Regions from separate parts of the Homo sapiens genome. Here region 2 is linked to region 1. Evidence: promoter capture Hi-C in human tissues and cell types (Jung and others, 2019). All regions are on one chromosome and are shown on one strand. The core of a region is centred on a gene start or on the middle of the fragment in contact, and the rest is flanking DNA. Distances in the headings are between cores, read along the strand shown. Region 1 holds the start of FAM78B (family with sequence similarity 78 member B). Region 2 overlaps MGST3 (microsomal glutathione S-transferase 3).

Region 1 (5,322 bases), core at 1,716-4,215:
TTTTTTCTTCACAGAGTCAGGGAAATAGGGCGTTAATAAGGTAAAGATATAAGGTAATGAAGTAAGAAGTTTATTTTAATGGCAAAATTTATTTAAGTAGCTTTAGAAATTACTTTGGCCCCATATTCATAGAACCATTAAGAGTCTAAAAAGATTCTTTACATTTTTCAGCTACACTTTACCGTACTTTATGGTGGAAATTATATGCCATGATGACATTCATGATTTTGGAGACTCACCAAGGTCATGGATGAACCCTCTGAGAATGTCAAGGGTCCAAGTCCATGAATAATGTTACATTTTATTGGCTTTACTAAATATAACAAAATCTTATTTTAAGTTTGAAAAATAAGATATTCTTCCTTATGTGATTTCCCTATATTTTGGGAAAGGCTGCCATTCCCCTCCCCGTTTATGAAGGTTTAACATGTGTCACCAGAAGACAAAGGAGTTATTTATCCACAAAACTGCAGCCTGACAAGCAACTCAAATTAAGAAACATAACTACATTCCCCAATGAAATGCTTTCCTTTTGGTCTATTGCCTGGAACCTAATAACCACTGAAACTCAAACTCTGACCCCACCCTGCCCCCCAAATACCTCCAAGAACCTCGAACTTAACATGACATCACCCACAGTCCCAAGCTGCTTCCCCTTCTATCACCTTGTTCAGTTACCAAGTAAATACATTTACCTCCTAAGTGATTCTTAAATGCAAATGCAGCCAGGCCTCTCCAGCCCCACAGCACTGCCCCAAGCTAGCCGAGGGTCAAAGTATCTGTCATCACAATATTCTGAAACGCTGCCTCCTCTATTCTCTATATGGATGCAGAGTAATTTTTCTCAAAATGCATGGCTTGCCTTCATTGGCTTCCACTGAAGTTTAAGATAAGGTCCTATCAAGAGAAGACACTGGGCCCTACTAGAGGGTGAAGGGTAGGAGGAGGCAGAGGATAAAAAAAAAATACCTATTGGGTACTATCCTCATTACCAGGGTGATAAAATAATCTGTCCAACAAACCCCTATGACATGCAATTTACCTATATAACAAACCTGCACCTGTACCTCTGAACCTAAAAGTTAAAAAAATTATTCACCAAACCCAGTGATCAAGGTTAATAACACCAGTAAAAAGTCATATTGCTATCATGTACCCCTGACATAATGCAATGAGAAGGCACTTCATCTTCATGGTATTCATCCCCCAAATCCAAAACCCTGGTCTAATCATGAGGAAACATCAGATAAATGCAAATGAGGAACAATTCTACAGAATATCTGACCAGTCCTCTTTAAAAATGTCAAGGTCATGAAAAACAGAGAAAGACTGAGAAGCTGTCACAGATTGAGAAGAATAAGGAGATGTAATGACTAAATGCAACATCATATCTTGGATTAGATTCTAGAGAAAAAAAGACATTAGTGGAAAAACTAGTAAAATCAAAATAAAGTCTGTAGTCTTAATTTTAAAAAGAAAAAAGATATGGTCTATCAACAACCAATTGATTCTTGGACAGTGATTCTGATGCCCATGGTCGACACATAACACCTTGAGAAATGCCTTGACTGTGAGTTGTTTCTCCCCCTCAGTACAGGATGAGTTCTTTCATATCTCTATGCATTTTGCATTTGCCAAATGCTGGTCCTGTACTACTCATTCACCTTTCTCTTTTCAGTGAGACTCTACAGTCTGTCAGTATTCAATTTAAATGTCACTACTTGAGCAAAGTCACACGTAAATCTCTCAGTGGCCAGAGAGCCACTGAGTGGCTCTCTGACCACTGAGGGATTTACATGTGGCCAGAGATTTACATGTCTGGCCTTCCACGGCACTGGATACACAACCCCACTAAAGCAGGTGTCACAGTTTACTATAATAACTTGTTAACAGGTTTATTTTCTCCAGTGATCCATGTGCTCTTTTTCAACTTTGAATCCCTAGTACCTAGCACTATGTTTGGCTCCTGCCAGGCAGGCAGTCAGCCTTTGCTGAATGAAAGGACCAGTGATTGAGGTCTGTGGCTACACGGTAAAATGAGAGAGACGAGTCATCAAAGGGAAAAACTGCTTTTTTGTTAACTATAAAGTGAACCAAGGTGTCAGAACAGTTAAAACAAGGATGAAGAGTGCTTTTAGATCTCAATCAATTTTTAAATTACTCGTCACACCTGTCCTAGCTAAAGACTAACTCTAGCACCTCCTGCGGCCTGTTAGTCAGTATTTCACACTTGGGCAGCAGATCCAGCAAATGTTCAATGATCGCAGAAGAAATACTTAGAAGCTATTGGCTTTGAAAATAAAAATGTAAGAAGATGCCTAGTAAAAGCATCTGCTAAATATTCTTCCTGTTTGGCACATTAGACTGCAGTATCAGACACATGACCGTGGTCATACTGTACACAATGCCCAATGTCTGCCAAAACTCTGGCATATGAGAGACTTAGTGCTGGAGTACGGAGGGATTCTTCCGGTATCCCCACTACACACAGTGGTGGAAAGAAGAGCTTCCAGAACAAACCCAGTCAGGCAAAGAGGCAAATACACTGCATTTAGTAACGCTGCTGGAGCCCGCCCTTCACCCTTTCTGAAGGTAGGATACTAAAAGGGCTCAAGCCTAAATCTAATCCAACAAGCTATATTCTGAATAACGACCAATCTCTGATAAAGCTGTTCCCCTAACCCTTCTGCTGCCCGAAACACTCACTCTACAGCCCCTACTGGGCTACCGGGTTCCCCACTGGACTCTGGACAGCGCCGCGCCCTGCTCGGCCTCACCCACCCGGTGGCGCTTGGGCCCGCCCTAGTCCCCCACCCCCACCCCAGGGCACCACCTACCAGGGCCCCGCCCCGCCTCAGCCCCACGTGCGGGGCCCCACCCCGGCGCTAGCGGCCCTTTAAACACCCCCACCCTTACACATTACCCCCCCCCCACCCGGACGGCAGCCGAATAGGGACAAAACTCATGGCGTACAGCCAGTTTCCTCCGCGGAGCACGTCCTGTGCTGCTCCAGCCGTTGGGGCTCTCCACCCCGGGCCACAGCCTCCTGGCGCCCCCCGGGCCGAGGCAGCCGGGCCGAGGAGTGTCGGTGTGGTCCGGCTACGGGGCGGGGCCGGCGGGAGCTCCGGTCGCCGCCGCCGCCGCTGCTGCCTCCGCCTGCCTCTTGGGCCGCCCGCTCGCCCGCCGCTGGGTGCGCTGCACGCGGGGGGCAGCCGTGGTGCAGAGGTTCATGCAGCGGCGGCGGCGGCGGCGGCTGCTGCTGCTGCCGCCGCGGAGGCAGACAGACCGGGCGCTGCCACCGCCGCCCTCCCCCGGCTCCATGCCGCCGCCGCTGCCGCCTCCTCCTCTCCGGCGAGGGGCGGGGGGCTCCGGCCCGGGGTGGGCACCATTCCTCGCAGCGCCGCTCCCCTCCCTGCCCTCCGCCCGGGCGCTGGAGCCGGCGAGGGCACCCGCCGCCTCCTAGGAGTGCACCCTCCGCGCGCCCTGCCGGAGCGAGGGGGCGGGCGTGGGCGGACGTCGGGGCAGCGGGGACCCCGCGCGGCTGCAAGAGGAGGGGGCTTCCCCAAGGATGCCCGGCGGCTCCCCGCTCCTAGGTGCGAGCTGAGTCTGACCGGGAGCGAGCGGCGCGTCGCCATGCCGGCGTGACGGGCGCCCCCGGCTGCCCGCGCGGGCCCCCGCGCTGCCCCACGCCGCGCCGTGCCGGCACCGGGCTGCAGGATGGGCTGTATCCAAAGCATCACCTGCAAGGCGCGGATCCGGCGCGAGAACATCGTGGTGTACGATGTGTGCGCCACCATCGACCAGTGCCCCACGCGCATCGAGGAGACCTCGCCCATCGTCCTGCGCTACAAGACCCCCTACTTCAAAGCCTCCGCCCGCGTGGTCATGCCCCCCATCCCCCGCCACGAGACCTGGGTGGTGGGCTGGATTCAGGCGTGCAATCAGATGGAGTTCTTCAACACCTACAGCGACCTGGGCATGTAAGCGACTCGCCGCGCGGCACGGGAGCGGACTCTGGGCCCCCAGCTCTGCTTGCCACCTTGACCCCCCTCCCCAGCTCCTTCCTACTGCTGTCCCCATCGTCTTTCTAAACCTTCCTCCCGCCTCCTCTCCCACCTCCCTCCTCCCTACGCTTTTGTTTCAGTGACAGGGCGGGTGTAGGGAGGCTCCTTGCGAAGGCATTTTCTCGTGGTTTGCTTCTGACTTCCCAGAAACGCGAGGAGAAAGGTGCGGGGCGGGAAGAACGCGACAAGGAGGGTTCGAGAGGCGGAGGTGGGGATGGCTGGCGAGTGCCTGGCGAGTTTCAGGGCGCCGTCTGTGCTTTGTGGGGCTCCCCGGGAAGAGTTTGGGGGAAACCATAGAGGAGTGGAGTGGAGTGCCGGGGGCGCATGGGCTGTGCCGCGCGTCCTTTGGAGAAACCGGAGCGGGCTTGGAAGAGCAGGTCCCGGGCATCCGAGCGGGAGTTGGTAGTTCTGTCCTTGCCCTCGCGACTGTTGAAGTTTCGAACCCTTGTCCCCCGGGCCAGGGAGCCCGGAGGCGTTTCCGTCTGGAACCACAAGCCGGACACAGTTGCCTCTCTGTTTCCGCGCCCCCTGGACCAGTTCTGGTGGGGAGCTGGAAGGCACCGAGTGCGTCCCGGCCAAGAAGGGCGGATAGCCTTGTGCGAGCAGCGTTCGGCTGGCGCGGCGCGGGGTGTTTCTTATGCTAAAGGAAAGGATGGATCTCTTGTCTGTCTAGGGTCCTTACTTTTTAAAACTTTCCTAATTGCGGCACTGGAAGGGATTCCCCTGGCGCCCACCGCCGAATTCTATCGGCGAGCTGGGAGCTCTCCAACTTTCAGCAGCGCCGGTTGGTGCGCGCCGGGCTTGGCTGCTGCGGTGAAGACCAAGGATCGCCGCGGCTCCTCAACCGCCAGGGGCCGCAGGCTACGGGCGGTCGCGTCCGGGACTTTTATATTTACCAAATTTTCATAACTCCGCACCCGCCTCCTTTCAGAACTAGACTCTGAGCAGGTGGCAACGACAATAGCTAAAAGGTTTAGGGCCTGCCTTCTACCTGCTGTTACAATGTAGGTCTAGAACACCCTAATTAGCCAGTCTGCAGCCTACAGGGAAACCCTTTTTCTGGAAATTCAACCTCATTTCACTTATTAATCTAAAACTCTAGAGCTCCCAAGGTTCGTCTATTTAATATGGATATGGGGTGGGGGAGTTCCCATTTTAAAAGGTCAAACCATCTTTTTAGCAGCAGTTTGCAGGCTTTTTATTGCACTCTGAGAGCATGTCAGTTAACACTAGTCATAGGCGCTAAAAGAAATTTGAC
Region 2 (5,322 bases), core at 2,060-4,559, 520 kb after region 1:
GGGGGCTGGGGGGCACACACTGCAGCGGGCTGGTTCCACAGGTCAGCAGATCCTGGCCTGTCTGTGCAGCTGCAGAGAGCAAGGAGTCTCTGGCTTCCCTCCAAGCTTCCTTGCCCACATTCTCTTCCCAAGTGTAGAAAGTCAGCATGAGGAGGAAGCCACAGTAGTTATTAAAAGAAAAACAGAGTGTGAATTCTGAACACCTCTTTGAAAATAAATAAAAATGACTGAACCTCCAGCCTATCCTTAAATTCAACACATCTGGGGCAAACAGGTCATTTAAAATAAAGCTGCCACCTAAGCATGGTGGCTCACACCTACAGTCCCAACAATTTGGGAGGCCAAGGTGGAAGGAACACTTGAGGCCAGGCAGCCTGGGCCACACAGGGAGACTCTCATGTCTACTCAGGAGGCTGAAGTGGGAGGATCACCTGAGCCCAGGAGGCTGAGGCTGTAGTGAGCTATGATTGCACCACCTCACTGCAGCATGGGGCAACAGAGCAAGACCTTGCCTTAAAAAAAAAAAAAGGTGTCTCTCAGAAGCAATAAATGTAAGGACAATAAAATTAAGCATATTTGCTTTAGGTTAAAGTTTGCAAATCAGTAGAGTGAGCTTTCAGACTCTAATCTTTGGACAGGATGCTGGGCTCCCTGGCTATGTGCAGGGCTACCTTGTGTCAGCCCAGCACTTTTCAGCTCACTTTTACTCTTCACAAAACTCCTATTAGCTCCACTTTATAGAAAAGGAAATAGAGGCTCAGTAAATGAGGGCAGAGCTAAGACCAGAGCAGGTTTTAGAATTCTCCCCCAAAACACTCCAGCTAGCCCAGGTAACACATTCAAATTTGGTGGCTTAGTCACTGACTTCTATTTTTCTTAATTTTAAGAGGCTAGGGTAGGTAGATGGCAAGATAAGAGAAGTGCCTCTTGCATAGATGCCTGTCACAGCAAAGCAACTGCTCTACAATCCACAGTTAGAATCTATAATTACAAATTAATATTTACTACTGAGCTCCTCTTTTAAAGTATAAATGCAATCTGTGAGGTTAAACTTGATGGGCATTTGCACCCTAGTGAAAGTTACTCTCCTCACACTTTGTTAAGGTATGTATGGCGTTATGAATCTGGATGATGACAAGCAGAGCCAGCAACAGTTAGGACCTTGGAAAGGCAGTGAATTCACAGTAAGGGTACCCAGAGTCTGATGCTACAGCAGTGGTTTGCAGAGGATGCATACTCAGTCATAGGGACAGTGCAAGTGCCTGGGGCAGCAGCGTGACTGTTCTCCCTGAGGGTCCCCCGCACGAGCCATGGACACGTCTGCATAGGTGCAGGAGCAATGCCTGAAAAGCTGCCTGCGAGAAGGGCAGCAGAACAGCCCTCCCTGATACCTCCTTGCACTCCTACCAAGTGAGGTGTCCTGCTTTATACACCATAACAACCTTCACTTAAAACAGAGCAGGACCACGTTTGTCTGGCATCTTCCATGTCAAGCACAGTGTGCACGCTCATAGATACTTACGGAATAAATGATTTGAGCTGCAACTGCAGGTGTCTTTCAGAATGACCACCACCACGCACCCCGTCCCCTGAATACACACCTGAAATAATCTCTATCATCTGGCACAGTGTCTGGTATAAAGTATGCATCTAACCAATTCAGGTTTCCGTTTCTTCCCTCAATATCTATTGAAACCAGGGAAGAAACTGAATGTATTTAAGAAAGACTGGTTTATGACTAATCCAGAAAGAGAAATCTTAAGAAAGAAGAATTCAGAACACAGAGAAAACTCTTGTCGTAGTTGTGGAAAACATAAATGCAATAGGGAGTGAAAAATCATTAAATCTTCTCTTTCAAAGAAAGAATCAGCTTAATTAAATCAACATTCAAAAAAACTATCATTTGCTACATCATTATTTTCTGAAGATTCCAAGGCGAAGAGATAGATATTCCCACTCCTTAGAGAGTGACTTTTGTGTGTGCGGGTGTGCACCAGGAAGGGGATGCAGCTCAGTTCACAGTGGCCACACCCTAGGCAGTCGCAGCCACACCCTGGGTTGTGCCAGCCCCAGAGGTAGCAGATAGCTTCCAGGGACAGGGTGGAAGAACTGATAGCTGGCACCCAACCAATCTCTGGCATGAGCACTCATTTGAACCGCAGACCACATTTTGCTGATTATATACCTACTCTGTGTCACCAGAAACCCTTTCATGAACCCAACAAGATAAAGTTCTTGAGAGTGGGAACTTTGCCCTTGACTTTCTCTTCTACGTAGTGCTAGATACACACAGTCCAAACAGTCCTTTCTGAGCTGAACTTTAATACAGGTGTAGATGACTTTGCAATTCACTTGGTTATATCGTAGCATTTGTTAATCATTATGCAGTTTCCTGGGTTAGTCATAAACCAGCAGTATAAATTAATATTTATGAATTGAAACCTTCTACCACATGCAGCCATGCGTTTCAGTGATGGACTGCATATTTAACAATGGCCCCATAAGACTGTAATGGAGCTGAAACATTCCTATTGCTTAGTGACATCATAGCCACTGTGCCATTGTAACATCGTAGTACACTGTATCATCCACATGTTTGTGGTGATGCTGGTGTAAACAAACCTACTGCGCTGCCAGTCATATAAAAGTATAGCATGTATAATTATGTACAGCACATAACACTTGATAATGATCATAAGTGACAGTTACTGGTTTATGTAGTTACTATACTATACTTTTTAGCATTATAGTGTATTCCTTCTACTTATTAAAAAAAAATGTTAACTGTAAAACAGGTGCAAGCAGGTCCTCCCTGAGGTATTCCAGAAGGCCTTGTTACCATAGGAGAGGACAGCTCCACACATGGCAGGTGTGTCCATGTGACCTTCCACTGGGGCAAGATGTGGAGGCAGAAGACGGATACTGATGATCCTGACCCTGTATAGGCCTAGGATAAGGTGTGTGTTTGTGTCTTAATTTTTAACAAAAAAAGCTTAAAAAGTAACTATGAAATAAAAAGAAAGTTTTAAAAATAGAAAAAATTTCACTTCCAGTTAGAAACCTACAAAGGCCATCAGCTCAAAGTCAGTATGGGTGTTCTGAACTGAATGGTGTTGCTTCTTTAAAAATAAAAAAAGTATTTAAAACATAGAAAAAAAAATCTTATAGAATAAGGATATGAAGAAACAATTTTTGGCCGGGCATGGTGGCTCACACCTGTAATCCCAGCACTTTGGGACGCCAGGGCAAGCAGATCACTTGAGGTCAGGAGTTCAAAACCAGCCTGGCCAACATGGTGAAACCCTGTTTCTACTAAAAATATAAAAAAATTAGCTGGGCGAGGTGATGAGTGCCTGTAATCCCAGCTGCTCGGGAGGCTGAGGCAGGAGAACTGCTTGAATCCGGGAGGTGGAGGTTGCAGTGAGCCGAGATTGCACCACTGCACTCCAGGCTGGGAGACCCAGCAAGACTCTGTCTCAAGAAAAAAACAAAAGAAAACAAAAAACAAAGAAACAATTTTTATGCAGTTACAATGTATTAGTGTTTTAAGCTAAGTATTGTCACAAAAGATTCAAAAGTTTAAAAATTATAGTAAAAAAGCTTCAGTAATCTAGTTTAACTTATTATTGAAGATAAAATATTAAAAAATGAATGTAGTGTAGCCTAAGTATACAGTGTACGTAAGGTCTGCAGCAGTGTACAGAAATGCCCTAGGCCTTCACACTCACCACTCACTCACTGACTCATCCAGAGCAACTTCCAGTCCTGCAGGCTCCATTCATGGTAAGTGCCTTCTACAGGTGTACCATTTTTTGTCTTTTATACCATATTGTTACTGGATCTTTTCTAAGTTTTTAGATATCTTTAGACACACAAATACATACCACTATGTTACAATTGCCTATGGTATTCAGTACAGTAACATGCTGTACATGTTTGCAGCCTAGAAGCAATAGGCTAGACTATATAGCCTGGGTGTGTAGTAGGTTATACTGTCTAGGTTTGTGTAAGTACACTGTACGATATTCTCACAATGACAAAATCACCTAACACATTTCTCAGAACATATCTCCATCATGAGTGAACACATAACTGTAGTTAAAAGTACCTAGTTTTCCCTCTTCTACACTGTTGAGGGAAGTATAAGATAGAACCATCTAGAGGACAGCCTGGCAATAGGTAATTTTTTTTTTTTTTTTTTAACACAGGGTCTCTGTTGCCAAGGCTGGAGTATGGTGGTGCTATCACAGCTCACTGCAGCCTTGACCTTCTGGGCTCAGGTGATCCTCCCAACTCAGCCTCCCAAGTAGCTGGGGCTGCAGGCACACATTGACATGCCCAGCTAATTTCTGTATTTTTAAAATTTTTTTATTTTATTTTATTTATTTTGAGACAGTCTCGCTCTGTCGCCCAGGCTGGACTGCAGTGGCACAATCTCAGCTAACTGCAACCTCTGCCTCCCAGATTCAATCAATTCTCATGCCTCATCCTCCCAAATAGCTGGGATCACAGGCGCCCGCCACAACACCCGGCTAATTTTTTTATTTTTTAGTAGAGATGGGGGTTTTGCCATGTTGGCCAGGCTGGTCTCAAACTCCTGGCCTCAACTGATACGGCTGCCTCAGCCTCTCAAAGTACTGGGATTACAGGTGTTAGCCATCACGCCCAGCCTATGTATATTTTTTCTTTTTTTTTTTTTTAAGAGATAGGATCTTCCTATGTTTCTTAGGCTGGTCTCGAACTCCTGGGCTCTAGTGATCCTCCCATCTCAGCCTCCCAAAATGCTGGGAATACAAGCATGAGCCACAGCACCTGGCCAGTAATATTCTTTTTAATATTAATATTCTTTGGCTCATTAATCCTACTAGAAATCTATCCTGAGGTAACAATCAGAAATGCAAACAAATTTGGTTCAAAGATATTTACTTCAGCAATATTTATGATGGCAAAACCAGAAATACTACATATGTCCAATAATAGAGGGCCAGTTAAATAAATAATATACCCGTTAAATAGAACATTATACAACTGTTAAAAATGGTGTGTACAAATATTAAAGAGGTTAAAACAGGCTCAATATACAGCAGGTTGAGTGGGGAAAAAAGAAAATAAAAGTATATGTAGAATAATCTTGGTTTTCTTAATAATAGAAAAAAATTAAGAAAGTATTAAAATCATAAGCATAGTTATTTCTAGATGGCTAGATTATAGATTTTTCTTTGTAATTTTCTGTAATTTCCAAAATGAGCAAATACATATCTAAAAAAACTTAGAGTGGCTTGACAATCATTATTCATTGAGAAGACAGAGGAACAGGCAGTA

Evidence for each region. The method cuts DNA at HindIII sites, captures the fragments that hold promoters and counts their contacts. A contact is called where the count stands out against the background at its distance.
Region 2: a contact is called between a fragment that was not itself captured here and the fragment with the promoter of FAM78B in region 1, in 1 of the 25 tissues and cell types used here (pancreas).

What each region holds. Positions count from the first base shown.
Region 1 is chr1:166,164,644-166,169,965 of GRCh38, reverse strand. It overlaps FAM78B (family with sequence similarity 78 member B), which reads left to right and starts at 2,965. Exons shown (of 2, transcript NM_001017961.5): 1 at 2,965-3,980. The coding sequence starts at 3,718. It overlaps LOC112268276 (a long non-coding RNA gene), which reads right to left and starts at 4,089. Exons shown (of 3, transcript XR_002958633.2): 1 at 3,912-4,089. RefSeq lists silencers at 631-690, 2,725-3,214, 3,255-3,314 and enhancers at 3,705-3,754, 3,855-4,024, 3,196-4,098. The HindIII fragment of the contact is 7,560 bases long and covers 1-5,322 here.
Region 2 is chr1:165,642,933-165,648,254 of GRCh38, reverse strand. The region is part of intron 1 of MGST3 (microsomal glutathione S-transferase 3); the gene reads right to left. Among named protein-coding and RNA genes, the nearest start is that of MGST3, 14 kb to the right of the region's middle. The HindIII fragment of the contact is 3,519 bases long and covers 1,550-5,068 here.